Regions from separate parts of the Homo sapiens genome. Here all the other regions are linked to region 1. Evidence: promoter capture Hi-C in 16 types of primary human blood cells and fetal thymus (Javierre and others, 2016). All regions are on one chromosome and are shown on one strand. Each heading gives the region's core, a stretch centred on a gene start or on the middle of the fragment in contact. The rest is flanking DNA. Distances are from core to core; before and after follow the strand shown. Region 1 holds the start of ALDH1A2 (aldehyde dehydrogenase 1 family member A2). Region 2 has its middle 36 kb from the start of GCOM1. Region 3 has its middle 19 kb from the start of GCOM1. Region 4 overlaps GCOM1 (GCOM1, MYZAP-POLR2M combined locus).

Region 1 (7,284 bases), core at 2,541-5,040:
AAACTTTTTAATAAGACCCTAATCTCCCAGAAGGCAGATGTTTCCAGTCTAACACAGTGAAAAGCACCCCTGTTAGGAACATGGCCACTCAAATGCCTTTTGAATTTAATTGAAATAGACCCCAGAAAACAGAAGTTTAAATGAATAAATAAAAAGACAAATCTAGACTCACGATGCACATTAGCTCTGAGTTTTAAGTTGATTGCCTTTTTGCCTCTTCTATTTTAGCAGGTCATTATGTTATAAATACCCTCTTCCTCCCTGTGTTTCAGCCCCATATAATATCAGATGCAGAAAAAAAAAACATAACTCTTTGTTACTGTTAGTTATGGGCATAAACTCTCACTGAAAAAGTGACCAAGAGAAAGACAGCACAACGATCTGGGGGAGGGAGGAAGGAAAGGAGAGACCGGTACAGCCAGAAGAGAAGATAGAGCCAAGAAAGAAGGTCGAAGTGGAATACAGAGGACAAGTTTCCAAAGACCTGGGAATCTGTTAAGAGATATCCCCTGCAGTCAGGGGCGGTCAGTAAAGTGCTGAGCCTTGACTTTGTAATGTGTGTATTCCTATAATATCAGTTATACAAAATTATAAAAGTCAGACTAATAAAATAGACAACTCAGAAAATTTTAAATTCATAAACACATCGCTCAAGGCAATCAGAATGCAGTCTTCTTAGGATACAAGCAAAGGAGAGCGCATTCTCTTGGTACCAAATTGGTCCCCTCAATACTTCATGTTAGTTTTCACTCCTCCTTGACTAACACCATCTAGTTTTAAAAAGCACATTCCTTCATAAGGGATCACTTTTAAAACTTGGGATCCAGCTTGCTGTATTAGGGAAATACAAATAGACATGTTCCAAAAATGGTATTGCCATTGATCATTGGTATAATATGGATACTAGAATTTCAGAGTGGTAAGCGTATTTTAAAAAATGGAATGTAACTGCCTAAAAGTCCATACACAACCATGAGTTTAGCCCTTTCAACATCCTTAGGGAATGAACTTTAATTCTGGAGCATTTCCACTGGACCTCTAGCAGGCAAAGGCAGTAACTTTTAATTCTGGTCATCTCCCCCATTCCCTTTATTAAAAATGTGAAATACTTCTAGGAGGAGGAGGAAGTTGGAGCAAAAATACAGAAAAATACAAGATCACAAGTACAAAGTTTTCTAAGTGCACATTACTTGAAATTCTCATAGTCTGGTCATTTATTTTAAGTAGTGACTCTATGTGGGTCCCAATATCACACTGAAAAATCATACAGAAAGTCATATCCTTCACTAAAGATGTATGTTTAGCAAGACAAAAAACAATAACATATTGTCTTACAGTATCATTTTCTGATGCAAATATTGTGTTTCTTTCAAATGTGATATTTAACACGCCCTAACGCGTAATACTTTTGTAGCCATTACCCTTTTAAAATCCCCTATCGAATATGGTATCACTATGCTAAAGGACTGTCCATTCTATCTTGTTCACTCTTCTGTTTGAAATTGCTAATATAATTTCCCTCACTTCTGGTCATGTTTGTTTTTAAAAAACTCACTATTAATCTTATTTTTCCTTTAAGTAAAAAAATCATTACCCTGGGATACCAAAAGAGCAGCTTCTGCTCTTCACGTTTAAAAAAAAAATACTGCTTGTCCACTATGCTTGTCTTAGAAAATTTAGAAGTCTCACTAAAGAGCTGAGGAGGAAAACTGCTGGGAATGCTCACAGATACCTGATTTTACAAGTTTTTGTGGAAAGAGCTCGCCTTTAGATTAGTGTTACTCAGTGTTTATGAGGGTTGTTTGTCAAGGCAAAAATAAGGTACCTCCTCCCCACAAATTAAAGAATCAAGTTACAATCCATTATTTCATTTCTGATTGTTTTTCTTTGTATTAAGTGGGAAAGTGGATACTGGATAAAAGTTCCCCGAGCTAAAAGACTCCACATTAAAGGCTCCAATTAGCTATAAATCAGTTGTCTTTCCTACTGGGGGAGAACAAGAGAGAAAAGAGAGAGGGGGTAGTTAGGGAGTAAGAGAACTGGAAGAGCTTCCAAATTAAATTCTGAAAAACGTACCTATTGCATACCTAAAATTTCTTTCAGAGGCTGTTAGAAAAATCCCATCAAAAATAAGACTAAAATCAAACCTTCCCAAATCTGAGGGTTAGGTCTTTTCTCCTGTGTAGATCTTCCATTTTAAGACCTTTAAAAAGAGCCTGAAGAGGTTAGAGACCCTCATAAAATAAAACTTCTAAGCTGCATGCTTTCCCTGCTCGTTCCTAAACCCAGACAAGTGCCACACATTGGCACTATTGTTATGCAAACAATGCCTAAAAGGTTATAACCATTAACGACCTCTCATTAAAACGGCTTTGAAAAATTTGTCACACCATCTAAAAAAGCTAGCAGGTACATTAAATCCATCTAAATCGACATTCAAAACACAAATCGCCCTGATTTGTAACCTAAAACTCAATGCAAGTAAAATCTCAATATTCTGATGTTGTTTCTTGTATATCTCATTCAACCACTAAGCCAGATGCAAACAATTTACTTCTCTACAAAATTTATCTTGTAAAAAAGCACGATGGAATACATCTTTAATCAACCTTTAACCATATGCATGTGCGTCTATGCGTTTGCGTTAATTGGGAGAAGTTGAGTGTAGAAATGTACCGAAAGGACTAGAAAATCAAACCAGAGAACTACAAAATGAACTCCAAGAAACGTGGTTTTCAATCCCATCTCTCTCTCACCACCTCCCTCAAAATGTTGTAACATTACAATACCCCTACGTTTGTAATCGATCATTTTTTTTCTATGTCGAATTTGTGGAAAGTAAATTCATTTTATATTAGGTAGCAGACGCATATTCTTTTTTAGGCGATGCAACAACAAAAATCCTGCTTAGCAAACCCAAGATGTCAACGTTCGTTATAAAAAAAAAAAAGTAAGTTCTTCAGTTCAAAACCGAACATGCTAACAAATATTAAAACTTTTTAAGTTTCCCAGGGAAACTGCCGCTGCCTACAAAATTCACATGAAACGCTGACGTTGGAGTTACTGTACTTATCAGTCAGGTTTCCGTGAAATTTGTCAAACCGGCCAGAGCGCTGGTGTCTTGACAATTCCTTACGGGAAAGCCCCTCAGCACCCTCCGGGCTGTGGAGGACCTGATTGGGACCAACAGCCGAGGGGCCCGGAAGGCGGAGGACCGAGAGGCGACGGCCAGGCTGCGTGGCCAAGCTGACGGGGAACCCCGGCCTCCATCTGAGGATACTAAGCGGTTCCGACGCCTTCCCCCGCGGCAGTCGGGACCGGGAGAATCGGACAGAAACCAGCCTCAGAGTCCGGGGCAGGAGCCGTTGACGGCTGCCCCTCAACGCTGCGCTTCGGGTTGGGTTAAGTCCCCAAGGCGTCCTCAGACCACGGCGGGGCTTCAAACGCCCCAGTCCCGAAGACAGGCAGGGGGTCCCTCTGCTGCGCCGGGATGACAGGCTGGCCCCGACGACCCCGGCCCCGTCCCGCAGCCCTCACCCGCTGAAGAGATCGGGGAAACCGAAGAAGGTTCTAGAAAGTCTCCGTGGACGACGGGCGCTGGGCGGCCGCTTACCTTGGTGTACTTAATTTCGAGATTGGGCGTGGGCGACGGCAGGAGGTGCAGCGACGCCATGAGGGCGGCGGGGTCGGCCTTCACCTCGCCGGGCATCTCTATCTTGCTGGAAGTCATGGTGGCGGGCCGGGTGTCCCTAGCCCGCGGCGTGGGGCAGTGCGGGCTGTGCGCGCGGTCCGCGGCCCGGGGGCGCGCTCGCCTGTATATAGGCAGGTGTCAAGCTGGGGCTCTTCTTATTGGACGTGAGGGCCGAGGCGCGGGGGGCTGGTCCATCCTACCTAGGACGCCCGGCGCAGCCTCCATTTACATAAAGCCCGCGCCGCGCGGCCGGGACGCTTGGCGCCCACGGTCAAGTCCGCCCGGCGCTCCCGCCCCCCGGCCGCGGAGACCAGCCCACGCCGCCTCCACAGTCCTCGACGGTGGGAGCGGAACTTGCGCCGCGGCCCGCGGGCCTCGGCCAGCCGGACTTGGTCTCCGGGTCCCTGGGTCAGAGTCGGCGGGAGGCGCACAGCGGCCGAAGTCGAGCGAGGGTCGTGGCCCCCGGAAGCGGAGCTGGCAGGGGCTGGCGGGGACCGGAGCGGCCCGGTGCTGCTTCGGAGTAGAGAAAGGCCAGGAAAGTCCAGGCTGCGGAGGGCGGCTCCCAGCTCGCCCACGTTCCCTCCCATCCCCGTCCCAGGACCCACCGAACCCCGTCCCCCTTCCTTTCCGGAGACCCGGGAGGGCGTCCTCCGTTCTCCTCCTCCGGGCAGGGGCGCCAGGCTCTCGGCAGCTACGCCCTCTCCCCCGACCCCCCGACTCCCCTCAGCCGGGCCGAGGTGCATGGTGGCCAGAGGGTCAGGGAGAGGTGGCAGTGGGTGCGAGTCCCCCTCGCCTCGGGCTCAGAATGAGGATCCCTGCGAGCGGGTCAGCGCGGGGCGGCCCTTGCCAGGCGTCGCCCGCCCAGTTGCTGCCCTCTGCCGGCCGGGACCGCCCGGGCGGCTTGCGCTGTGGCGGGAGGATATGGGCAGTGATCATCCCCGGCTCCTCCGAGGAGCTGCATGCTTCGTGGGCTCCTTTAGTTCTTCTCGGATCCCCTCTTCCGGCTGTTTCCCCTCCTCACCCAGCACACCCACAGAAACACTATTTTGTTTTTCTGTTGTTCCTTACACGCTAAGAGCTATCGTCCCGCCAGACCTTAGGCTCATTTTACTGTCCCTTTGGGATTGAGTTTCCATCTCCCCCCTAATCTAAGTGTTTCCAAAGTCTAACAAGCTGCCCTCTAGTCTGTGGATCGGCCTGCAGGTGTAAACCAAGAACCTAGAGACCCTGCCTCAGAATGGGCTTTGGACTCCGTGGACTAAATCAAGGCCGCATGGAAAGACCTGCATAAGTCCCTTCCCTTCCTTACTCCTCACTCCAAATGTAAGCTTGACAGGGGCCTACAGTGTTGATAAACGCTTTTTCTACACTACCAAGCAACACTGTGATTCTCGTCTTTTTGTTTTGTTTGAAGAGACAGGGTCTCACTCCTTCACTCAGGCTGGAATGCAGTGGCACCGTGACAGCTCACTGTGATCTTGAACTGGGCTCAAGTGACCCTACCACCTCAGCCTCCCAAAGTGCTAGGATTATAGGCATGAGCCACTGCACCCGGCCTGATTCTCATCTTAAATGCCATTTTTAGAGCCGCTGGAGTCCCATTTCTTGGGCGTTAAGAAAACATTAAGCATCAGCCAGAAAACATCTTTCCTTAGATACTTTGAGTAACTAAAACTGCCTAATGCTCAGCGCTCAGATGCTAAGCAATAGTGAAAACAGACAAAAATATTTCATTTTAGTATTAGGTTTATAGAAATAAGTTCCAGCCTCTCAGAACCCAAAGTGACCTGGGTGAATCGTTTTCATGGAGAAACTACAGACCTTAGCTTGGGCAGTCGAGGGATCTGTACTCAGGGAATTTCTATGGCCAAAAATTATGACTTAATAACAGTGTATGCTCATAAGATATACTTTTATCAAAGCCTTAGAAGGTTAGAGATACAATTGAGAAATAAAAAAGTAAAATCTTAGAGTTCATTGGGGAGAAAGAGAGGGTTCCAGCAAGGGGGAACAGTGATACCTGTGGAAAAACTTATCACTAGTTATGAGAGGCTGTGGGGAAAACATGAAAAAGAGCCATAACAACATGAGCTGAGTGCTCCAAGGAGGACGCCTACTCCCTGGGAAAGCTGACCTTTGGCTGGGTCTTAAGGGAGAAGGGAGGCTTCAACAAGAGCAAAAAGAACACTATAGAAAAGGTATAGAGGCTGGGCACGGTGGCTCATGCCTGTAATCCCAGCAGTTTGGGAGGCCGAGGCGGGTGGATCACTTGAGGTCAGGAGTTCAAGACCAGCCTAACCAACATGGTGAAACCCCATCTCTACTAAAAATACAAAAATTAGCTGGGCCTGGTGGCAGGTGCGTGTAATTCTAACTACTCGGGAGGCTAAGGCAGGAGAATCGCTTGAACCCAGGAGGTGGAGGTTGTAGTGAGAGGAGATCTTGCACTCCAGCCTGTCTCCCTTGTGCCTTCCTCAGTTCCTAAAACAGCGTAGAACACATAATAACTATTTAATAAGAATTTTTGTTGGTTGATTTGAGCAAAAGACAGAGCACTTTTGACAACTTCCACCGTAAGTGAAAGTAACTTCCTTCACTGCCTGATTAAAGAACATTTTCTCCTCTTGATCTTAAACTTCGTTTTGCTTTTCCCCATCGGTGTTTTTTTGTTTTTTTGTGTTTTTTTTTTGAGACAGAGTCTCGCACTGTCATCCAGGCTGGAGTGCAATGGTGTGATCTCGGCTCACTGCAACCTCCGCCTCCCAGGTTCCAGCGATTCTCCTGCCTCAGCCTCCCGAGTAGCTGGGATTACAGGCATCTGCCACCACACCCAGCTAATTTTTTGTGTTTTGGATAGAGACAGGATTTCCCTATGTCAGCCAGGCTGATCTCGAATGCCTGACCTCATGATTCACCCACCTCGGCCTCCCAAAGTGCTGGGATTACAGGTGTCAGCCACTGTATCTGGCCAAAAAAGATATATATTTTGTCTATATTCAGCTCGTGACAGCAGCCACTTTTTGTTCAAGCCCCCTTTTTTGTTTTTTTGAGACTGTCACCAAGGCTGGAGTGCAATGGCATGATCACGGCTCACTGCAACCTCTGCCTCCTGGGTTCAAGCGATTCTCCTGCTTCTGCCTCCTGAATGGCTAGGATTACAGGCACTCACCACCATGCCTAGCTAATTTTTGTATTTTTAGTGGAGATGGAGTTTCACCATGTTGGCCAGACTGGTCTCGAACTCTTGACCTTAACTGATCCACCCTCCTCGGACTCCCAAAGTGCTGGGATTACAGGCATGAGCCACCATGCCCGGCTGTTGTTCAAGCTTTTTAAATCAAGGTAGGGACAAGATGTAGCGGAAAAGAACAGTGAATTATAAATGCTTCTTTGGTGTTCATCTTCTTGGTTTCAGTTTGTAAGATTTACAAGGCTATTACTTCCAAGGCTGCCTTAACACCTCTTCTCACATTCTTATTTCCTCTTCTCTTTCTTTTATCATCTAGTTTTAGTGTTTTCTCATATCCTCTACAGATTTCACAATAGTTAAGAAGACAGTCTTTGGCCAGATGCGGTGGTTTACACCCGTAATT
Region 2 (7,284 bases), core at 2,988-5,487, 510 kb before region 1:
ACTGTTTTCCCTGAGACCATATATAATTCCACAGCTAATGTGTTGCACTCACTTGCTAGGTACCAGGCATTGCCTAAGCCCTTTATGCCTATTGGCTCACTTGATCCTCACGATCATCCCCTGAGTAGGTCCTGTTGTGACAAGTGAGGCAACCCAGGCAGAGGTTACTAACCTAACCAAGGGCATGTGGTAGGATGTGGGGGAACTGGAATTGGATTCTGGGTCTGGCTCTGGAGTTCACACTCTGCTGCCTCTCACCCAGCCTTACACGTCCTAGAGGACATAGGTCTTTAATTTGGTCCCTGTATTAGGGGCTCCTACGGACTCCCAGTCATCCAGATCTCCCCTTCAATGGCCGGTTTCCATGCAACTCGACAGCCTGCTGCCTGCCTCCATCCTGAGCACAGCAGTCAGAGGCAGGTGGAGATGAAGTGAGCCATGGAAGCCACGGGTCTCATGGACGTGGCTGGCCAGGAAATCTTAGCTGTTCCTCTAGCCTGGCTGCTTTGGTGCCACTTACTGCTGTGATCTTTGGATCTCTCATTTTATCCTGAGTGCTCCCTTGCTGCCAGGCCACCCTGATTTCTCTGAGTCTGAGCTGCGTGGGGTGGCTGCTCTGCTTGGTCATTGGGCCTCCCCACTCTCTCACTGTATGGAAAGTGGTTTTGGGGCAACATCAGCAAGTCTTCGAGTTTGGGTGGTTTTCAGGGAACATTTATCTTCCCAACCCCCAGACTGCTTTGTGACGAAAGTCTCCTGTCGCTGTACCATAATAATAATAATCGTCGTGTGGTGCACATTACGTGTTAGTCTCACATGCAAAACTGCACTTGCAACCTGAAATCAGCAGACTGTCCCCAACAGAACACTGTCGACTGAAGTCCTAATCAGACCTCTAGCCCGAGTACTGGGTGTTGGGCTGGAGGCTGGAAACCTGGGCTTCGCAGCAGTGAGCTGTCTTCCTGGAGGTGGCAGCATAGTCTCTGCCAAGCCAGGGGAGTGGTCCCAGTGGGAATGGGCTCTGCCTCCCTGTGAGTGGGCAGGAGGCTGACCTGTGTCCAGACAGGGAGAAACCTTGTGGGTTACAGCAAGCTTTGGGACTTACGGGCATGTGCAGAGCTCATCTGGAAGGAGGCAGATGCCTGGGCCCCCAGCCTTTCCCATGAGTAGCAGGGCTACAGCTGTGGAAGTAGGACCAGCCTTTTGGCGCAGTGTGTGGTGGGCTGGAGGTGGGAAGGGTTGTGTGTGCAGGTGGTGGGTAGTGCCCCTGCCACACGTACAGATCCAGGGCATCTCCTCTGGACCCCTCCCAGGGACTGTAAAACTTTACTATGGGAACAGACTCAGTAGTATTTTGGGGCAGCGGGAATGGTTCTTTACTAATGCCTAAGATCACTTAACAGGGCAGAAGCCATAATTGGGCAGACCTTACGGGCCAAGAATCTTTTGCACTTTATCTGATTTAATCTGCACCCTGTGAGGTAGGTGGCATTACCCGCTTTCATGTGTTAGGAAATGTGTGTAAAGATCAGTAACTTGCCCAGGGTCACCCAACTAGTAGCTAAAGTGGCTAAAGTCCCAGGTCTGTCACTCTAACCACCCAGAGTGGCCTTACCCTGTACATTCTCACCCTGTACATTCTCACCCTTACCCTGTACATTCTCACCCTGCTGCCCCTCTGAAATAGTCACTGCTGGCTTCCCTAGCTGAGGACACTGGGCACAAAGGCTGGGCTTCTGGATTGCAAGTCTGTGCTTGCAGCCTGAGGCCCACTCTAAGGGAAGGCAGATGGCCTGCCTCTCCTTTCTGCAAAACCCCCTGCCACCTGCTGCGTGCTGCCAGCCTGACTCACTGACTCCAGCTACCTCTGGGCCTCTGGCCCTTCTAGGATGGGCTTGTTTTCCAGGAAAGGGTTTGGAGATTAAGATAAGCCAGCTGCCTCCAGTGAAAGGCCCTGCTGCCTTGGAAAGGGCCGGGAAGGCTGCCATTCCAGCTCCTTGGTTTGCTCGCTTCTCTCCGTGGCTGGGGCTGCCTCGCCTTTCATCCGTCCCTGCCTATCGTTGGGCATGAATAATGAGGCTCTTTGGAGACAGGCATAGGACTCCCTGCAGAGCGAGGGATTTGTAAAATGGGTGCCCAAGCTCCCTCTGGGGCTCCGGCTCCCTCATGTCTCTGTCTGTTCTTCCTGGGGAAGCTGCTGCTTGTATTTAGATAATGAAGAACTAGAAAACAGACCTGGCCTCCTTTCAACCTGCCGCTTCCTCCAGCCTGGGTAGGATCCAAAGCTCTGGCCTTCCTAAGCAGTGCTTGTTCCTGACTTACACATGGATGGTTTTCTAAACTAAGTTCATTTTCTGAAGCAGAGAATGAATAACTCACTCTACTACCTCCTCCCCTTCATGGCAAAATTTTTTCTTTTGTCTGTATTTTCACGGCTGCTGGATTCTAAAATCAAGGTGCAAGTTGCTTTGGGGCTTACTAAAGTCCCGTGGCCTTCCCAGGCCCTGTGGAAAGGTTAGATGCACCCCAGATAACCAGGGTTGGTTATTCCCTGTGAGAGAGTCAGAGGGGTGCAGGCTGGAAGCATAGCGCTCCTCCACCCCTGCGCTGGTCATCATGTGGAGCGTGTGCTTTCTAAGAAGTGCCAGCCTGTGTCCAGAGCCTGCTGGGCAGATGTTAAGCCAGCTGTGGACTTAGTCACAGTGACTCTGCTACCAACAACAGCAACATGGACATTTAGGGAGGAGCAAATGAGAGGAAGGAAGAAATAGGCAAGATAACAAGGCTTGACATCTGATCTCTGGGCATTTCCAATGGAGGGATTTGGTTTGTTTATGTTTCCACCACCAAGAATTAACAGTGGTTAACAGCTGTTCATATCTGTCTGCTTTACATTTTTAAATAAACATTACAGATAAAATTGAAGTTCTCTTTTTGTCCCTCACTCCCTGCCAAAGGCAACCACTATTCTCAAATCTGCTGGGTATTCTATTCAATTTTATTTTTACGTGTATGCATCCATGAACACCATGTAGTATGTTTTGTGTGTTTTAAAATGTCATATACATCTCAGCGTCTTGTATATAGTACTCTGACTTTTACATTCAAAATTACATTTTTTTGAGGCCTATGTTGATGTAGATTATTTAGTCATTTGTTTTTCTTTTTAATCACTTTATTGCTTGAGTACATAGACAAATTTATGCAACCAGGGCGAAGCTGTAGATGGTTCATATTTCCAGCTGGGAGGGAGGACTCGCTTGGTTTTATAATATCGAGCCAGACGGTGAATCCGGCTCTCTATCAGAATCAGAAGGAATTTAGCATCCTTGTCTTTTCTGCTCCTCTCAAGATGCTTTTGAACAGCGACTGCTTTCTTAATTAAGTGGTAGAGATCTTCAGGGAGATCAGGAGCAAGTCCCTTAGACTTAAGAATTCTTATGCCTGTCACAAAACGCACTTTTGCAGCACCATGTCAGTCTCTCAGGATCACACCGATTTGTGGAGGAGTCAGGCCCTTCTTGGTCAGTTTGTAAATCTGCTCCTTCACATTGTCAGATGTCAACTTCAGCCAAGTGGGGACGCTGTGGTGATAGAGCAAAGCCGACTGGGACAGGCCCTTCCCGGGCACATGAATGTGACCCGTGACGGCGGCAGTCAGGCAGTGAAAGGCTGTTTTTATTTTTTTATGGTCATTTTTTTTGGCAAATTAAGTGTTGAATGTTGAGTTTTTAAAATACTGATTGCTTTATATGCCATCCGCTTCAAAAGGAGTTGAGTTCTGCTTCAGGCATGACATGGTAGCTGGTATCAAACTGAACTCTTCCTCTGGGAACAACTAGAAAAGGTGGGCAAAAATTTCTTAAAAGCAGTTGTTTGAAGACCTGGAAGAACAACCAAGACACTCTGATGTGGAATTGGCCATTGTTCTTCCCTGGCTGCTGTTGCTATGGGTCATGGTGCTCGCAGCCCTCCTTGGATGGTCGGATGGGTGAGAGGGTTGCTCACACAAATGCCCTGCAGTTTTTTAAAACAAAAGATCACCCCCTTCAGTTAGAAACTGAAGGTCGCTGTAGTGGAATCCAGACAGCAGAGTCTTTGGGTACGGGGAAGGCTGGCAGGGGGACACTGTGGAGCAGAGCCAGGGCAGGCCAGGCTGGGAGCTATATTGTAGGGTGCTCAAATTCTACCAAGATTCTAAAATATCTCAAGTGTAATTAGGGGTGCATTGTTTAAAAAATAGTCTAAAGGAAGTCAGTACCTTAGTAGCCACACCGGGGAGTGGTAAGACCCCAAGGGCTGACCTGATCAATGGCACAGTGACTGAACTGCACTGTAAGGAGAGGACCCAGGCAGGTAGTGTCAGGGTGAGGTTTGGTTGAGCTGGGATGTCCAAGTTTGGGACCAGAGCTGACCAGGCCTAAACAGTAAAAGAGGAACACCAAAAACTGCCCCGGAGGACTTCGTTCTCCATTTTCACCCCAGAACACTGTTTCCCCTTGTCCTTCCAGTATGGAGAATAAATACTAAAGAATATTGATTGGAAAGAACACTGAATTCTTGGCCTGTTTTGGGGGTGGCATTTTCAGCTTTCCTTGGGTGGCCACATGTCTAGTTTCAGGCTCACAAAGACCAAGGTCTCACCAGCTCTGTCCCCTGTGGAATGGTGGTGGCATCTTCTGTGTGATGGTGAATTTTAGATGTCAACTTGACTGGGCTAAGGGATGCCCAGATAGCTGGTAAAACATGAATTCTGGGTATGTCTGTGAGGGTGTTTCCAGAAGGGATTAGCCTCTGAATCGGCAGAACGAGTAAAGCAGATGGCCCTCCCCACTGTGAGCAGGCTCTGTCCAATCTGCTGAGGGCCCTCACTGAACAAAAAGGTGGGGGAATAGAGGATTCATTCTCTACTTAAGCTGAGACATCCGTCTTCTCCCACTCTGACATCAGCGCTCCTTGCTCTCCAGCCTTCAGACTCTGAATGGGACTTAGGCAATCACTGCTACCCGCCCCCCCACACCCCCATTCTTAGGCCTTTGGGCTTGGACTCAATTACAGCTTGCAGGTGGAAAATCATGAGACTTCTCTGCCTCTAACTGCATGAGCCGATTCCTATAATAAATCTCTCTCTCTCCACACACACACACCCACTGGTTCTATCCTTTGAGGATCCTTGATTAATACACTCATTCATCCCTTGAAACGCCCAACTCTGTTGTGGAATTGACCATTGTTCTTCCCTGGCTGCTGTCGCTATGGGTCATGGTGCTCGCAGTCCTCTTTGGATGGTTGGATGGGTGAGAGGGGTGCTCGCACATCCCTGGGCTAACTGGGGTAGTTGCCTTGTTCATTTTGCTATATCCCATTTGGACCCTTTATGATTGGAGTATGAACTACATTTAGCAAACTTTTAAGTTCAACCCAGGAGCTGGAATCCTTACATCCTGGGAGTAGCTCTTCGAACACTTTGGAACTAGAGGCATGCATGGTGGTGGGTGTTCTTAGGTACGCGTTTCCTAGATGGATGGTCCTGAAATGGTATGACACCTCAACTTGCCAAGAGGCCTCCCGTGTGTTCCTGCTTGGCAGGGGGTGAGATTGAAAAGATTCATTACTTCCTTTACATATTTATTTTTCTATATAGAATAAGGTAACTGTATTACTACAAATTTGGAAAATAACCCCACCATACTGATGCAACCATTATTAGCATTTTGGCTCATTTCTTTCCAGTCTTTTTTTCCTACACAGTTTTTAAAGCATAGGTACAACTGCAGTGTTTATATGATTTGTATATGCTTTTTTTGTCACTTAACATTATAGATATTAGATAATCTTGATCACTTTTTAAAAATGCTTTTTAAAAATACACTTAAAAATCACATCACATTGAGTGAATTCTGTCATCAGTTAACTATAATACTATTTGTATATTAACAAATGTGTAGGATTTGGAATTCTGCCTTCCTACATCAAATACTGTTATATCTGTAGCTTTTTCATCTTTCAAATAATTTGCTTTGGCTAGATGACCAGAAAGAGAAGAGGAAAGACAACATCTTTAAGTCTCTATAAAAGTTCCTAATGTGGTTTGGCTCTGTGATCCAAACTTTATGTTGAATTGTAATTCTCAATGTTGGGGGAGGCACCTGGTGGGAGGCGACTGGATTATGAGGGCAGATTCCCTCCATGCTGTTCTCGTGATAGATCATTCTCACGAGATCTGATGGTTTAAAAGTGTGTGGCACTTCTCCCCTCTTTCTCTCTCCTGTTGCCATGTGAAGATGTGCTTGCTTCACCTTTGCCTTCCACCATGACTGCAAGTTTTCTGAGGCTTCCCAGTCATGCTTCCTGTACAGCCTGCAGAACTGTGAGTCAGTTAAACCTCCTTCTTCATAAATTACACAGTCTCAGGTAGTTCTTTGTAGCAGTGTGAGAACGGACTAATACAGTTCCCAAGTTGCTTTTCAGAAGGGTTTACTAGTTTGTACAGACCCAAGAAATTACAAATGTGGCAGTTTCTCCCTTTCTCTCTCCCCTCAGCTTTGATTATTAACATTTCTTCCCGAATAATAGACTAATCTTTCTTTCATCAGGGCAGTCTTTTTATATTGTTAGTGAAGTTTCTTTTAGAAATTGTCGTTTTGTGAGTCTTTTTAATTTTTTATTTATTGTCTAGTGTGGTTTTTGAGTAGCACATAAAATAAATGCAGATAGTACAGGAGGGTAAAACAATGAAAAGTGAGTCTTCCATCCTTGGCGCTCATTTCTCCAGGCTCTACTCAGAGGCAGTCACTGTTTCTAGTTTATTTTGTTTCTTCTGCTTCTTGTACATTTTTCTCGGGGACTCCTGGATCCCTCGCCCTCTGGCTTCCCACTGCTTTTCTGGTTCTCTTTAAAGGGCACCCTACCCCCAGCTGCATTGTCAGGCTCAGTGCATCTCTCTTCCCTAACAGGTCCACAGTGGTCAAAACTCTAAACATATGAACACTTATTGGGGAAGGTAGTGAGGATGGGAGCCAGTGGGGGATGTGGCCTGGGAGGGAAATATTGCCAGATCTCATCTTCCTGAGATGGCAACAGGAGATTTGGACCAAAGGCTCTGGGTCTGTTGGGGGGATGGGGGGAACAGCATTTTCAACCAGGTGTTAGTAGTGGCTGCAGAAATGCGGTTTTCTGGGATCTCAGGTGGGCTCTTTAAAGAAGAGACTGATGGGTGATGATGGAAGCCTTCACAGTCCTGATGTAATAGCCGAGGTGGACAGCAGGGGGAGCTGTTGGACG
Region 3 (7,284 bases), core at 2,328-4,827, 490 kb before region 1:
CAGGTGGAGCTAAAAATAGGATTTGTTGAAAGTTTGTATATTAAATATTTCAATGTCCCTAGATCCTCTCCCTCCTGCTGCTAGAAGACTAGATATTTCTTCTCTGGAGCTGCCAGCTTTGGGCAGCAGCATAGCTGAGGACAGGGTACCATGCCACATGGGGGATTGAGTGAGTATATGTGCTGAGTGGTGACACCACTGGCCTCCTCCCCAGGCCCAGCTCCAAGAGCACTGGCAGCCAGGTTGATCTCTTCCAAGCAGGAGCCTCGAGGATTCCTTTCTAGGGAAGATGTCTGGCAGCTCAGGCATAGAATTTAAAAGATGTTGAGGGTTGGGAGTACCTTGGTGAAACTGCTCAGTGGTTTACCCTCTGGTGAATTCTATAGTTGATGAATGTCACCCCATCAACTATTGGGTGCCTCACTCTGAAATATGAGCGAACAGTCAAGGGTCATCAGGCATTTGAGAGAAGTCCTTAATATCAAAGACATAGACAAAAACAAAAACAAAAACAAACAAAACAAAACAAGGAACTAGGGATGAAACAAGCAATCTGGGCAGCAGCAAGAAACCTGTACCATAGCAACAACAACAAAGTCCTGTGATTGATTCATCTTCAGAGATTACATAGACAAGCACAAGAGGTTAGCATAGCAGAGAACCAAAATGATCCTTGGAACTTCAAAGTTGAGAGCAGAAAGAAAAACTAAATTTAATGGTTAGAAAATGAGGTTAATTGAAGTAATTATCCAGAAAGTTGAGTAATAACATAAATGAGGTGAAAAACAGGAGAGAAAACATAATAAAATTAGAGGATCAGTCCAAGGAGTTCCATAGACTAGGAACAGAGAATATGGAAGGGAGAAGGACGCAATTCAAGAAATTTCTCCATTTCTGAAAGACGTGAATCTATAGATATGTAAAAGGTCCACAGAGTGCCAAGCACAATGCATGAAAAACACCCACAACAATGCATGTGCCCAGCCCCCACTTATCCCTGGGAAATGTGTCCCAAGACCCCCAGTGGTGGCCTGAAACCTCGGATAGTACCTGCTGTAGTTTGGAGGTTTGACCATGCCAAACCTCATGTTGAAATTTGATCCCCAATGCTGGAGGTGGAGCCTATGGGAGATGTTTGGGTCATGGGGACAGATTACCCATGTACAGATTAATGCCCTTTCTTGGGGGTGAGTGAGTTCTTACACTATTAGTTCCTAATTGAACTGGTTGTGAAAAACAGCCTGGCACCTCCCCTCCTCTCTCTTGATTCCTCTTTCGCTGTGTGATCTCTGCACATGCTGGCTCCCCTTCACCTTCTGTCATGAGTGGAAGCAGCCTGAGGCCCTCAGCAGAAGCAGATGCTGGTGCCATGCTTGTACAGCCTACAGAACCGTGAGCCAAACAGGCTTATTTTATTCATAAATTAACCAACCTGAGGTATTACATTATGGCAACACAAAATGAACCAAGAGAGTACCAAACCCTATATATACAACATTTTCTTTCCTATACATACAAACCTGTGATAAAGTTTAATTTATAAATCAGACACAGTAAGAGATCAACAACAATAATAAAATGGAACAATTATAACAATATGCCAGGATCACTACTCTTGTGCTTTGGGACCATTGCTAAGTAAAATAAGGGTTCCCTGAACACTAGCACTGAGATGTTGCAATAGTTAAATTGATAATGGAGATGGCTACTAGGTGACTAACGAGCAGGTAGCATATAGAGCTGGACAAAGGCATGATTCATATCCTGGGCTGGATGAAGTAGGACAGCTTGAGATTTCATCACGCTACTGAGAATGGCATGCAATTTAAAAATTATGAGTTGTTTATTTCTGGAATTTTTCACTTAATATTTTTGAGCCGTGGTTGACCACAGGTAACAGAAACTGTGGAAACTGTGGATAAGGGGGCACTACTGTAATTATGAAGCTTCAGACCATCAGAGACAAAGATAAGGCCCTAAAATCTGTAGGGGGAGGCAAGGCAAGATCAGGAATCAGGATGGCATCAGACTTCTCAAGAAAAGCAACATTAGATGCCAAAACCCGTGCAGCAATGCCTTCCAAATTCTAAGAGAGAATTACTTCTCTATCCCTAGAATCCTGTACATGTCCAAACTATCAATCAAGACAGTTTCAGAAATACAATGTCTTGAAATCCTTAATTCCTATTTACCCTTGGGTATATTCCTCCAAAATGAGGGAATTATCCAAAAAAAAGGACAGCATGAGATAAAGGAAGCAGGTAACGCATCCCAGGAGATAATGCCCAGAGGACACCCTGGATGATGGCAAGCGAAGCCCCAGGATGGCACCATGGGGCTGCCTGGAGCCCCACCAGTCCAGGCTGGAGCAGGAGTTTAGAGAGCTCTTCCGGGAAGTGGAGGTGGAGGCTGTCTCCAGAAAAAAAATGCTGTTGACATATGACCGGATGAGTTTGGTCATGTGACACACTGTCACTTTTGAAGGAAAGCTAGTGATGACTTAGTGATAAGTATTAATACATAAAAAGCTAAATAAGTGGAGAAAAGGTGATAGTTGTTAGCTTCAGGAAAAACAAAAAGTTGTATACGAAAGAAAATATTACTATAAAATGCACTTCATGGCCTGTGACTGATGATCACGCGGTCATAGAGCATAAGCCGTGATTATTGATTTAAACAAAATTACGATATAGCTGTATTTGAAGAATGAGGGGGCATGTGGGAGGAAGATTTAAGAGACCAAAACCTCAGTTTCCACATGGAGAGTCACTAGATGGGATCTAAAATTTAAACAAAATCCAGATATGGCCATATAAGTGTGTAATTGAAATATATGATGATAAATACCAGAAGAAATAGCTTAAAGAGTTAAAAGTGGCTGTGACTACGCAATGGGGATCAAGGGGCAAGAGGGTGCTAATTTTCATTATAAACTTGTAGAACCACTGGACTTTTAAAACCATGTGTGTGTATAATTTTGTCTTCTTTTCATTAAATGTTGCAAAATCAGCATTTGAACCCAATTCTGGTCTGAATCCAAACCTTATTCTATTATCTCAATTTTGCCTCTCAAAATAATTGCTTAACATTTATTTGCCTTTAGATTTTAATTTTTTTGAGTCAATTTCTGATGTGTGCTGTTGACTCAATAATCTACAAACTCCACATGTGTATGGTCCGTGCTTATTTTGCTGACCATTGGATTCCCAGTGTCCAGTGGAGCATCTGGAAACAGTTAGGCTCTCAAAAAACATTTGTTTGTCATTAGGTCCATTTTCTGAGTCTCTAAATTTCAATTCTTGAATATCCACATCCCTCTTAAAGACTGTTTCTGGGCCAGGTGTGGCGGCTCACACCTGTAACCCCAGCACTTTGGGAGGCCAAGGGAGGCAGATCGCTTGAGCTCAGGAGTTTGAGACCAGCCTGGGCAACATGGTGAAACCCCATCTCTTCAAAGCATACAAAAATTAGTCAGGTGTGGTGATGTGTGCCTGTAGTCCCAGCTACTTGGGAGTCTGAGGCAGAAGGATCATCTGAGCCTGAGGTGGTTGAGGCTGCAGTGAGCCGTGATTGAGCCACTGCACTCCTGCCTGGGCGACAGAGTGAGACCCCATCTCAAAACAAACAAACAAAAACACAACAAAAAAAGACTGTTTCTGTGCTGCACTCAGATGTGAACACCGTAATAGATGCATATGCAGAAGTGAATTGCAGTTGTATGATCCCCTTAGAGCATTCAGGATCTGAATGATGGGAGCTCGCTGCTTAAGACCTTTTGATTTCCCTGAAAAAGATGCCATTCCGGGGCTGTTTTGTCTGCACCATGCAGGCTGCAATTCCCTTGCTGGCTGGCTCCTCTTGGTGAGGTTCTCCTGCAGGCAGTCTGGTCTAGAATTGAATTACACTAGATGTTATCTTATACTTTAACTAAGTGGCTGAAGCGTCCTTTCTTTGCTTCCTCCTTCACTCCTTTTCTCCTTTCATCTTGTCCTTCCTTCAGTCAACACATTTGAGCACCTACTACTTCGTAGGCACAGGGAAGGAGATGTGTGGGGAGAAACCTGAGAAAATAAAAGGTGATTAATATTGTCCTTACCCACAACTAAGTGAGGAAGCTGGCTATCCAATCAGCTTTCCAATGAAAGCGAGGACAGAAGGAAGTAGGAGCTTAACGGTGAAGCCTGGGATGCAGTAACAGGGGTGGGAATGCAGAAGGAGCATGTGTTCCAACTGGGGATCAGAGAAGACTTGATGGGCAGCTTGGGACTCACAGGAAGAGAGCCAGGGCTCTGAATGTGGAGTAGACAGGACAGAGGCCCACAGAGGCCTTAGGTCCTCCATGGCAGGACCCCAGTAAACTTGTAATACGACTGAACAAAATCCTCAGAAATGCTGATGGGATGTGGGGACAAACTGGGGTGGCCCTACTGCCATCTAGAAGAGGAAGCAGAAATAAGGCCGCAGGCTTCTGCTCAACTGGAGCCCACTCCTGGGCCTCTGAGTGAGGCCCAGCTGTTAGGGTCAATTGGCTGCAATCATCCAAAACTCACTGAGATGACCTCAAGTGGCAGAAAGAACTTGTTCTATGGTTGGAGGGATGTCTCACAGAGCCCACGAACAGGGAATTTGAATCAGGGATGGGGACATTGCAGGAACCCTGCAAGTTCTTTCTCCCCATTGCTTCCTCTGCTTCCCCTGCCTGTGTCAGGTTCTTCCTCTGAATCCCAGTCTGCATGGTAGAAAATAGCCTCTGAGTTTGTACGTGGATAGAGCAGCTAGACAGGGACTTGGGGAAGGGATAAGATATACCTAGTTTGAGTGCCAAGTTCTGGAAGGTCGGAGGGGAGGCCCCAGTGGGAAACACATGCTTCTTATGGAGCCAGAATTCATCTAATTGAGTTGGAGTTTGCGAAACCCCTTCTCTGCAAAAAAATACAAAAGTTAGCTAGGTGTGATGCTATATGCCTGTAGTCCCAGCTACTTGGGAGGCTGAGGCAAGAGAATCCCCTGAGCCCAGGGAGGTTGAGGCTGCAGTGAGTCGTGATTGAGCCACTGAACTCCATCCTGGGCAACAGAGCGAGTAGCCCTGAAGTCTGTCATCTTGGCCCTGATGTCTTCTTTGAGCGAGTTTATCTTGTGCTATGATGTTCCCGTGAACTCCAGGCCACATCAATAGGCCCCTCCACCTTGGGTGGGGGGCTGGCCTGGGTAAGCTTTAAGGATATCTTCAGAGAAGTCATTTACTTGTGTTGGAACAAAAATAGTTCTTGCATAGCAGCAGGGACAGAACTGACTTGGAGGTCGGAACAGGGTCCCAGTTCCCCCTTGGGGGTCCCAATTCCAGTTCCTCTTCTTATTAGCTTTGTAACCACTACCACCCTGCAGCTATTGAGTGCTCACATTGTAGCCAGTACACATTGAAATGACCTGAGTGTAAAATACACGATGAATTTTGAAGATTTAGTACAAGAAAATGTAAAATATCTCATTACTATTTTACTAGTAACATAATATTAATGTTAAATGATAATATTTCAATATATTGGGTTAAATAAAATATATGAGTAAAATCAAGTTTACCTGTTTCCTTTTATTGTCAATAAATATGGCTATTAGAAAGATTAAAATTACAAAAATGGCTCACGTTCTTTTGGTTTTCCCCTCTAGACTCTAAACCTAACAGATTGCCTTTATTGAAAAGAACAAAATCACACAGTCTTGGCACAACTTTAGAAATTTGGGGAAAGATGCGTATGAAATCTCAATATCTTAGCCTCTGTTTAATGTTAATTACCACATTGTCCTTCAGGGATGCAAATCCTGGCCCAACCTATAGCTGCCCCTCCCTCTGCTCTGCCTGCTGGCAAGACGGCCCAGGCCATGGGGGACAAGATGAGGACAATGATTCCTGACACAAGGCTCTATGCACCCTTTGGGCCTGGTGATGTTCTCATGGGGACCTGCAGGCCATTCCGCTACTCTGAAAAGCTTGACGGAAAGAAAATGTACAGCTTCCCAAGCACTGCTGCCTTGGCTGATGGGATCATTGCTTCTTGGCTTGGGGCCAACAGCAATCCAGCCAGGCAAGGTTGGTGGTCTCAGCTCGTTAGAAGCTCTAATTGGCAATTGTTAATCTCCTTGATTAATAGAAATGTTGAAAACAAATTAATTACTCATTAAAATGTAATTGGATAGACAAAAACTTTCCAAATGTGCTATTCATAGCGAGTGTGACTGAAAGATGTCCTTGGCAATGGAGAGTTTGGGAACCACTGACAGAAGCAATTGTATTCGTCAGGGTCCTGGTTCTTGCATGTTCCGTCTCCACATTTGGTTGGTAGGTGATGGAGTTCCCCTTCACTTTCCTCCAGGGATGTGTCCTCGACATGTCCATCCCCTTGAAATTCATAGAATTTTGAGATTTGGAAGACTTCCATCATGTCGCCACTGGGGATGATGAGCAACCTGTCATGGCTGTCACAGCCCTGTGACCAAACCCCTCGCCCTTTGTTCAGCCCCACTTCCTCCTCAGCTTGGAAGGCACCATGCTTCAAACTATCCCATCTCTGAGAACTCACAGTCAGAGCGGCAACCACTAATTCCTCAGGTTATGTGCAGCTCTGCAAGCCATTGCTCCACTCTCAGAACCAGTTCTTTACCCTTCCTGAGACTACAGGTGCCTGGGCCCCTCCTGGTGCATTAACATATCACCCTCCACTCAAGCCGCTGGCTCCAGCTCCCACGCTCAGGGAGGCAACATTGACTTTATGAGAGCATCTACCTTATTGGAAGGATGTGATAGAATATATATGTATATATGTACATAGACATGTGTAACATAAAATGAGAGAATGTGGACAAAGCTTTCTATAGTGTCTGGTCTGTAGATGCTCTCAGCAACTGTTAACTCTTGTTGCTTATTACTGACTTGTTCTTTTCATGTGCTGTTTTCCCCTCAACCATTGAGACTGCTCAGAGAAAGTAAGAAAATCAGACTGATTGGCTCCGCTACAAAGTCATGATACTTACTCCCCTGCCGGACTCCCCATGGTCTGGCAATCACTGTGTGTGTGTGTGTGTGTGTGTGTGTGTAAAAGTTTTATCCACAAATATGTGTATCGCTATAATTCACGTACCATACAATTCACCCATTTAAAGTGTACAAACCAATGGTTTTTAGAATATTTACAGAATTGTGCAACCATTACCACAATCAATTTTAGAACATATTCATGATTCTAAAAAGAAATTCCATACTCTTTAGGAGTCCTTCCAGACCTGGGC
Region 4 (7,284 bases), core at 1,932-4,431, 430 kb before region 1:
GGCATTAGTGCCCCTCCCAAATTTAAACTGTGGATAGACTTCCTACCCGGTGACAGGAGCAGATCCATGAATGGCTCCTGGAGGGCACTTAATAAATTATATCTTGGATGAATTCCTTTTTATGTAAGTCTGTGGTTTGAAAATTTTGCTCAGCACAGACTTAGGCTATCTTATGAGTAGCGTATCCACATAGTTTATTGCTCAAAGCAGAATATGTGAGGGAGTGAAAGGTGGTACTATTGGTAATTTAGTTAGGGAGACAAACTGGGAAGTGTGGGCCCCTTCACAGGGGTAGGCTGGGTGGGGAAGAGGGGCTGCCGGTCCACCGCCCGGTCTCTGTATTGCCGCCCTGGGGATCTGCTGCCAGTTCACTTGGCCTGCCACAGCCATGGGACAGATCATCTCCTCTGTATGTTCACTTCTAATAGGGCAGCTCTTCTTTTCCGTGTAAGAGTTACTTTCTCAGTAAGAGTTACTTGGGGGGTGAAAAAAGTTTATGTTGCTAAAAAAGCCTGAAATTACTGATTTAAGTAATTTTTTTCAGCTTAGGGGATTTATTCAATCATTCAGTCCACAAATATTTATTGAGTGTCTACTCTATGTGTGTGTCCTGTTCAGTCCTGTTGGTTCCAGAGGTGGCCTGTCACCAGGCATCTGGGGACATCATTAGGCTGCTTGGCAATCTGGCTGCTTCCCTGGAGTCCAGGCCTTTAACTCCAGCCCACAGTTGCCTGTTTTAGAGACTGATGCTTGTTTTCATCCTGACAGTGGAGTTAAAAAGGTTTCTCCTACTCCTCCTATTTTACTCCCCAAATTGGGAAAAAAAAAAAAAGCTTCAGGAACTCAGGGTATGTTACATGACCTGGATGCAGAGTGAATGGGCCTCCAGGGACAGAGCCCTTCCAGCAAGCTGTGCGTGCACTGCAAATGGAGCACACAGCACACAGGGTCTCTCTCAGCTGGTCATAAGCTCTGCTCAGGACTTTCCACTTTGGAACTTCTTGGTGCCAACACTTACCCAGTGATGAGAAGGGAGAAGTCAAGGGCGTCAAGAGAGACTTGTCACATCTTGGAAATAACATCATGTAACCTATTGAGTTTGAAGAATGCTTCCCTTTTCCAGAGTTTAGGTATGCAGCAAACTCAGCTCTCTGCAATAGGCGATAACCTGGAAGGAGGGGATGAGAGCAAACCTTCTGCAGCATAAAATCAATGGCGGGAAGTCTGTGTGTGAGAACGTGGCCTGGCAAACAGGAGGCACCAGCCACCACCAACCTAAGCCCTGCCCACCTGCAACTCCACTGACTTTTTCTCACCTCCTAAGCCAGGCCTGCTTCAGTACTAGGGGTGCCAGCTTAGTGTTCCCCATGCTAGGTTGGAATGTTTCCAAAAGCAACATTTAGGAAAGCACAAGGGTATGGAAAGGGTGAGTCCAGATTTCTCCTTTGAGCTTAGCTGGTCTTACCTAGAAACTGGCTTGGCCAATGCAACTGATGAGATTGCGTAGAGAAATAAGTTTCTACCTTTTGAAAAAGTCACTCATGTGGAGCATACCTTTGTCCTGAGAATGCCCCCAAAATTCGTGTGAAATGCCACTTTTATTTTTCTGTGGCTCTGCTCACCCCTCTTCCTCCCTTTCCCTGTTAGGTCTTGCTGTGTCTCTCTGCTGCAGAACCCAGTGGATGGGCTCACTACCTCTGTGAGTCCCCACATGAAATGTGCAGTGGAAGCTGCCAATTCCTCTGGGCCCTGCAAAAGCTGTCGTTCTGAAATGAGTCTCGTTGTAGGTGGAATCGTCCCAAGAAGCCAATGCTGAGGTGATGCGAGAGATGACCAAGAAGCTGTACAGCCAGTATGAGGAGAAGCTGCAGGAAGAACAGAGGAAGCACAGTGCTGAGAAGGAGGCTCTTTTGGTGTGTGTGTTGTAGCTGCCGATGTAAACTTACCGGGAATTGTTGGTTCATTATTGTTGGTGATGTATACGTAGTAGTGTTTATTCTTAGAGGTGGGTCAGTAGACTCAGCCATGGGTAAGGGATCAAGGAATTATTCATCTGCTCATTCACTCCCCTCCCCTCTTCCCCTCTGCCTTTATTCATCCCCGTCTCTACTCAGAATAGCCCCTTGTCTCTGTCTCTAAATACACACCTTTTTCTAGCTCATCTGACAATTTGCCAGCATCTAAGCAAACCCTGGGCTTGCCCGCAGCTGTGCCCTCCCTCCCTCCATTTGGTTCTCTCTACCTGAAATTTCCTCCTTCCCTATCTTTGATCTTGCCTAAGCTCCCTAAAAGCCTTAAATGCCACTCTCTCCATGCCTGGAGTCTCTTCCAGTCATGGAGCCAGAACCATTATCTGTCCTTAGGAAGCTCACTCACTCTCTCTCTGCTTTTACTTTGGAATTCTTTTATACCTGCCATTAGAGTGGGGCTGTGCGTCTCACATCTTGGCTTTTCCAGGAGATTATAAGTTCCTGAAGGCGGGGACTCCATGTCTGGCTCATCTGTGTCCGTAGAGGCTTAATACATGTTCTGATGATTGACTGGGTTTTCTTGTTAGTAATGAGCTGATGTATTGCATTATGGGAGAAGGATCTGGGAATTCTGCATTCAATTCCAGATCTGGTTCTAATTCCCTTACACTTCTGGCAAATACAGTGACATTCTGAGCATCTACTCAATGTTATTAAACATTTGTAGGCCTCTTTTACACCTTTTGGATATAAAGACTTAAGGGAAAAAAGGGAAAAAAATGTAGTGAGGCCCATTAACCAGCCACATGATGTATCTTTATTCATAGGTGAGAACCAGAACCGTGAGGTTGAGTTCATGATCTGTGAGACACTTTCAGGTTCCAAGGTCATGTTTTAAAGAGAAATCGTGATCTAGCAAGGCCTGAGCTGATTGGATCCCGGTGAGTAGCCTCGGTACTCCATGCCTGTACTTAGGAGGGTATATTTCTTTTGCAGGAAGAAACCAATAGTTTTCTGAAAGCGATTGAAGAAGCCAATAAAAAGATGCAAGCAGCAGAGATCAGCCTAGAGGAGAAAGACCAGAGGATCGGGGAGCTGGACAGGCTGATTGAGCGCATGGAAAAGGTAGGACACAGCGTTGGGCCTATTGCCCACTTGCCCAAACTTTTCCCTGTAGGTCCATCTGAGATACGAGAGGCCCTGGATATGGATTCCTCTCACCTCCAAAATTTGCAATTAAAAAAAAAAAGACAAAGCTATAAAATAAAGTATAAGGAAGTCCAACAACGTTCTCATTTTTCCCATGATAACTATTTTGATGCTTTTAAAAAATATTACTTGTGAAATTCTTTAGAAAAATTAATATTTTAGCAGCCTTGCTTTGCTGGTGCCCCAGGTGTGAACTTAGTTTATCCATTGAATTATCAAGCCCTATTTAGGTGTTACATCAACACAGCAGCCCTGTTGTTTCTGGGGCATGTGTCTCAAGGGTTGGCTTTTCCTTGACACGCTGGGGACTTGAGAGAGTAGGGAGGCCCCATTTCTCTAGGTGTTGTAAGCAGGCTGGTGAGTGTGGTGGGGGAACCTGAGGAAGGCGGGAGCTCAGCTGGGATAATGAAGCCTGTCTAGTGAAAGGGAAGAGGCCAGGAATTAAGTAGGAAGTGGAGGAAGGGGAGGAAGTGGTGGGAGAAAGGAAAGAGGAAAAGAAGGAAGAGAAGGAAGAGAAAGGATGGGTGACCTTTAGCAGGTGACGGCTGACTTCTGGACCCAGGAGTTCAGGGCCAAGTCTGTGGCTGGTTTCTGGGAATGGCTCCCTGGCTGCATATGAGTTTGCAGAGAGCAGTGACCTGCCAAGACCCTGACATTATTAGCACCCTGTGACTCATTCGGGATGCCAAGAATCTCCAATCTGATGATGGAGGCAGAGGTGGGGCAGCAAGAGCAAGGTCACTGTCAGGCTTCATGTGATGCTGAGAAGAGGTCGCCTTAGCTAATGGTGTTTGCAGCATAAGCCCCTGTACTGTCCCCTCATAAGGCGAGGTGTCGCCACTATGGGAACTGCATGAAATTCAGTTCTGTGGAGCTTCAGAGCTCACTGGGTGCTTCGTTTTAGCTCTTTAGCTTTTTACTTGGGAGAGACTTGGGCAAACTAAAGAGTCAATTACAATCTCCCTTCTACCCCCTGGGAAAACAGAATCCCATCTTTTATTGAAGAGTAGGTGATTGGCTTAGTCAGGACTAACATTAGTATTGACCAGAGGGGGTGGTGGTGAAGATTGGGCAACAAGGGAGCTTTCTAGAGCTTGAGTGAGCTTCCTCCCACATTATTGTCCTCCTACAACAGCAGAAGATCCCAGTTAACTCAGATGCTCTCTCTCTGGGCAGCAGGTTTTTCTGCAGCGTAAAGAAGCAAGGTGAGCCGGCAGCATAGCAGGGTGGTCTGGGGGAGATGCCGTCATACAGAGAAACCACAGGTAGTGGTCATGAACATAGGCTTTAGAATCAGACAGTCTGGGGATTTGAATCTTGTGTCTCTTTGTAGTTGTTTGCACTTACTTGGTTTTTCCTAACTCAGTCTCCACTTCTGTAAAATGCTGATAATGGTACTTCTTATTCTTAGGGCTTTTGTGAGCAATAAATGAGAAAAATCCACGCCAAGTGCTAAGCATGGTTCCTCGTATATAGTAAGGGTTCGATCATTTGTGGCTATGATTTTTACTCTGTTACGAGGTTGCCTAAATGTCTACCCTCAGAGTCAGGTTGTCTTTAGCACGACCCATTTTATGCTTATCTTCATTGCTGTCTTGAGGTTCTGAAAGTTTCTTGTCTTTCCCCACTGATTTTCACATGGAGCCCTCATGTGGGATGAATGGGTAGAGCCAGGAAGCTGGTAAGGCCAGCCCTCCCTGCCAGCATTTAGGAAACACAAAACCTTCCCCAAGTGGTGTTGGCTTCTTCTTTAGTGATTGGAAATGTATTGTCCTTTCTCTAAATCTTCCTTTCCATTTAGGCTAGAGAAATGCTCTATTTATTGAACTAACATTAGGTAGGCCAATTTACACTGTTTCCTTTTCAGGGATAAATCTGTGAGAGCAGGAATCTGGCCAAATCGCTGTCTCACACTACGTGAACGGCATGTCCTAGGCAGGGCTGTGGCAGTGTACGTATCCTGCTCTCAGTTTTGGATTTTGCTCAAGGACAAACCATGTGCTTTTGAATGGCTTCTCTGCCATATGCCTTAGTTTACTGTTTCTCTTGCTGAGCACTGTATTTCAAACACCTTTTTTTCTGATCAGTAAAAATCTTTTAAGGAGTGTTCTCTACCAGGGACCCTTCTGGGGAACAGATAATAGTCTATGCCATAATCTGGGCAGTGGTTTCACAGGTGTTTACAAATGTAAGAAATAATTGTGCAGTGTACACTTAAGATTTATTGTACCTCAATTTAAAACAAATTTTAAAAGTGTGCTGTAAGTTAGACCTTGCTCTACTTTATGACAGCCTTTTTCTTTCTTGTTTTTTGTTTTTTTTTTCTTTTTGGAGGGAGGCATTCACTTGTGAAAGCTTTTATCACTGTTATTTCGGGGCTAATGTAAAACTTCCAACCACATAGGGGCAGGAGGAATGTTCTGCTCAGGCCAGGCCATAAGAATGTGCATTTGCTGTAGAGATTTAAAAACAGTAACAAAACCCCAGTCAAAGTTGATCTACCTTTGTTATTTTAAATATTTCAGAGATAATATATTCTTCCTGCTTAAGGTGGACTGCTTCCCCACCCCTTTGGCCTACCTCTTGGTATACCACTGCTTATAGCTTCAGAAGTTGTGGCAGTTAAATTTTCAAAGATTTGCTTTTAATAATTTGGTAGAAAAGAGGTTTGGAATCTATGTAGCTAGTAAGAGTTTGCTGGGTGGAATTTCCGAACATAAAGATGAGGAACATTAGTTCTTAGAGAAGGACCTAAAGTAAAATAATCTCCCAATTAGTGAGCGTTATTTGATAAACTTGCATTTTAAGGAAATTTGTTACACTAACATCTGTAATGTATTTTTAGCACAATTTCGGTTATGACAGGCACCATGTTTTTATGAACATTTTTCAGCTTTGTCCAAAGAAATGATTCCAGACTCTTTTTTGGGCAAACTTCTAAATATACATATATATAGCAAAGTGTACAAAGTGCACGGCTTAGTGCGCGTATGTTTCCTATTGCTACCATAGCAAATTTCCACAAGGTTAGTGGCTTAAAACAACACAAATGTATTATGTTCCATTCCTAGAGGTCAGAAGTGCTAAAATCCAGGTGTTGGCAGAGCTGGATTCCTTTTGGAAGCTCTAGAAGGGAATGCATTTCCCTGCCTTCTCTAACTTCTGGAGGCCACCTGTACTCCTCAACTTGTGGCCCCCTCCTGCAGCTTCAGAGGCAGTAGCAGAGCATCTTCCAGGCTCCTTCTCTCTGATTCTAACCCTGCTGCCTCCTCCTCCTTAGAAGGGCCCAACTGGATAACCCAGGATCTCCCCATTTTAAGATCTTTAACTTAATCACATCTGCAGAATTCCTTTCTCCATGTAAGATAACACATAGGATTCAGGAATCAGGACATGGACATCTTTGGAGGGCCATGAATCTGACCACAACATATTTTTACAAGTGAATACACCTGTGTAAACACCACAAGTTAGAATATAGGATATTGCCAGAATCCCAGAGCCTCTTTTCTTGATGATTCAGAAAATAATAAAGAATTTTGCAGTATCACAAGCCACCAGTTTAAAGTATTGATAATCAGTATTTGGGGCTATAAATTTTCACTGATCCTGGGCTGATGGAATACTTTGGAAAATGAATCTTGAATGGTTTTATTTAGGATGTTTTGTCTCTGACCCATAAATATATCTATAAATACACAACAACAGACTTGGCAGTTTTGAGCCTTGTTTGGGCTTTGCTGAGCAGGTGTGTAAAACCCAGGGGGTGTCATATAGACTTGGACTCCCTAGTGCTAGAATTGCTAAATAGACATTCTCTGTCAAACTTGGGATCCATTGATTAAAATATCAGTTTCTGTTTGTTTTAGGAACGTCATCAACTGCAACTTCAACTCCTAGAACATGAAACAGAAATGTCTGGGGAGTTAACTGATTCTGACAAGGAAAGGTAAGACGTAATGCCTTTCGTCTTGTAATGGATTTAGGTTGTGGACACGCTGTGTTTTTATGACCTCATTTGACCCTTACATTTTCATTTGTGTGGTTGTACCTTATTACAGACTTAAGCATACATAACATTGGGCTGAGAGTTTCCAATATGGAA

Evidence for each region. Contacts are between HindIII fragments. The CHiCAGO score rates a contact against its expected background, and 5 or more counts as called.
Region 2: a fragment that was not itself captured here is called in contact with the fragment with the promoter of ALDH1A2 in region 1 in 7 of 17 cell types (fetal thymus, M2 macrophages, megakaryocytes and 4 more); the score reaches 15.2 in fetal thymus.
Region 3: a fragment that was not itself captured here is called in contact with the fragment with the promoter of ALDH1A2 in region 1 in 2 of 17 cell types (M2 macrophages and fetal thymus); the score reaches 5.4 in M2 macrophages.
Region 4: a contact is called between a fragment that was not itself captured here and the fragment with the promoter of ALDH1A2 in region 1, in 1 of 17 cell types (endothelial precursors). The highest score is 5.2, in endothelial precursors.

The regions. Positions count from the first base shown.
Region 1 is chr15:58,061,921-58,069,204 of GRCh38, forward strand. It overlaps ALDH1A2 (aldehyde dehydrogenase 1 family member A2), which reads right to left and starts at 3,791. Exons shown (of 13, transcript NM_003888.4): 1 at 3,614-3,791. The coding sequence starts at 3,730. It overlaps ALDH1A2-AS1 (ALDH1A2 antisense RNA 1), which reads left to right and starts at 3,305. Exons shown (of 3, transcript NR_147215.1): 1 at 3,305-3,822; 2 at 4,895-5,014. RefSeq lists enhancers at 2,809-3,328, 3,329-3,848 and a silencer at 4,457-4,646. The HindIII fragment of the contact is 8,256 bases long and covers 1-5,017 here.
Region 2 is chr15:57,552,737-57,560,020 of GRCh38, forward strand. It overlaps the pseudogene RPS13P7. Among named protein-coding and RNA genes, the nearest start is that of GCOM1, 36 kb to the right of the region's middle. RefSeq lists an enhancer at 1,377-1,952. The HindIII fragment of the contact is 6,295 bases long and covers 1,091-7,284 here.
Region 3 is chr15:57,569,465-57,576,748 of GRCh38, forward strand. No RefSeq gene overlaps it. Among named protein-coding and RNA genes, the nearest start is that of GCOM1, 19 kb to the right of the region's middle. The HindIII fragment of the contact is 3,267 bases long and covers 1,945-5,211 here.
Region 4 is chr15:57,630,647-57,637,930 of GRCh38, forward strand. It overlaps GCOM1 (GCOM1, MYZAP-POLR2M combined locus), which reads left to right. Exons shown (of 17, transcript NR_104371.3): 7 at 1,788-1,913; 8 at 2,967-3,095; 9 at 7,049-7,128. MYZAP (myocardial zonula adherens protein) reads left to right here. Exons shown (of 13, transcript NM_001018100.5): 7 at 1,788-1,913; 8 at 2,967-3,095; 9 at 7,049-7,128. Among named protein-coding and RNA genes, the nearest start is that of MYZAP, 42 kb to the left of the region's middle. The HindIII fragment of the contact is 4,701 bases long and covers 832-5,532 here.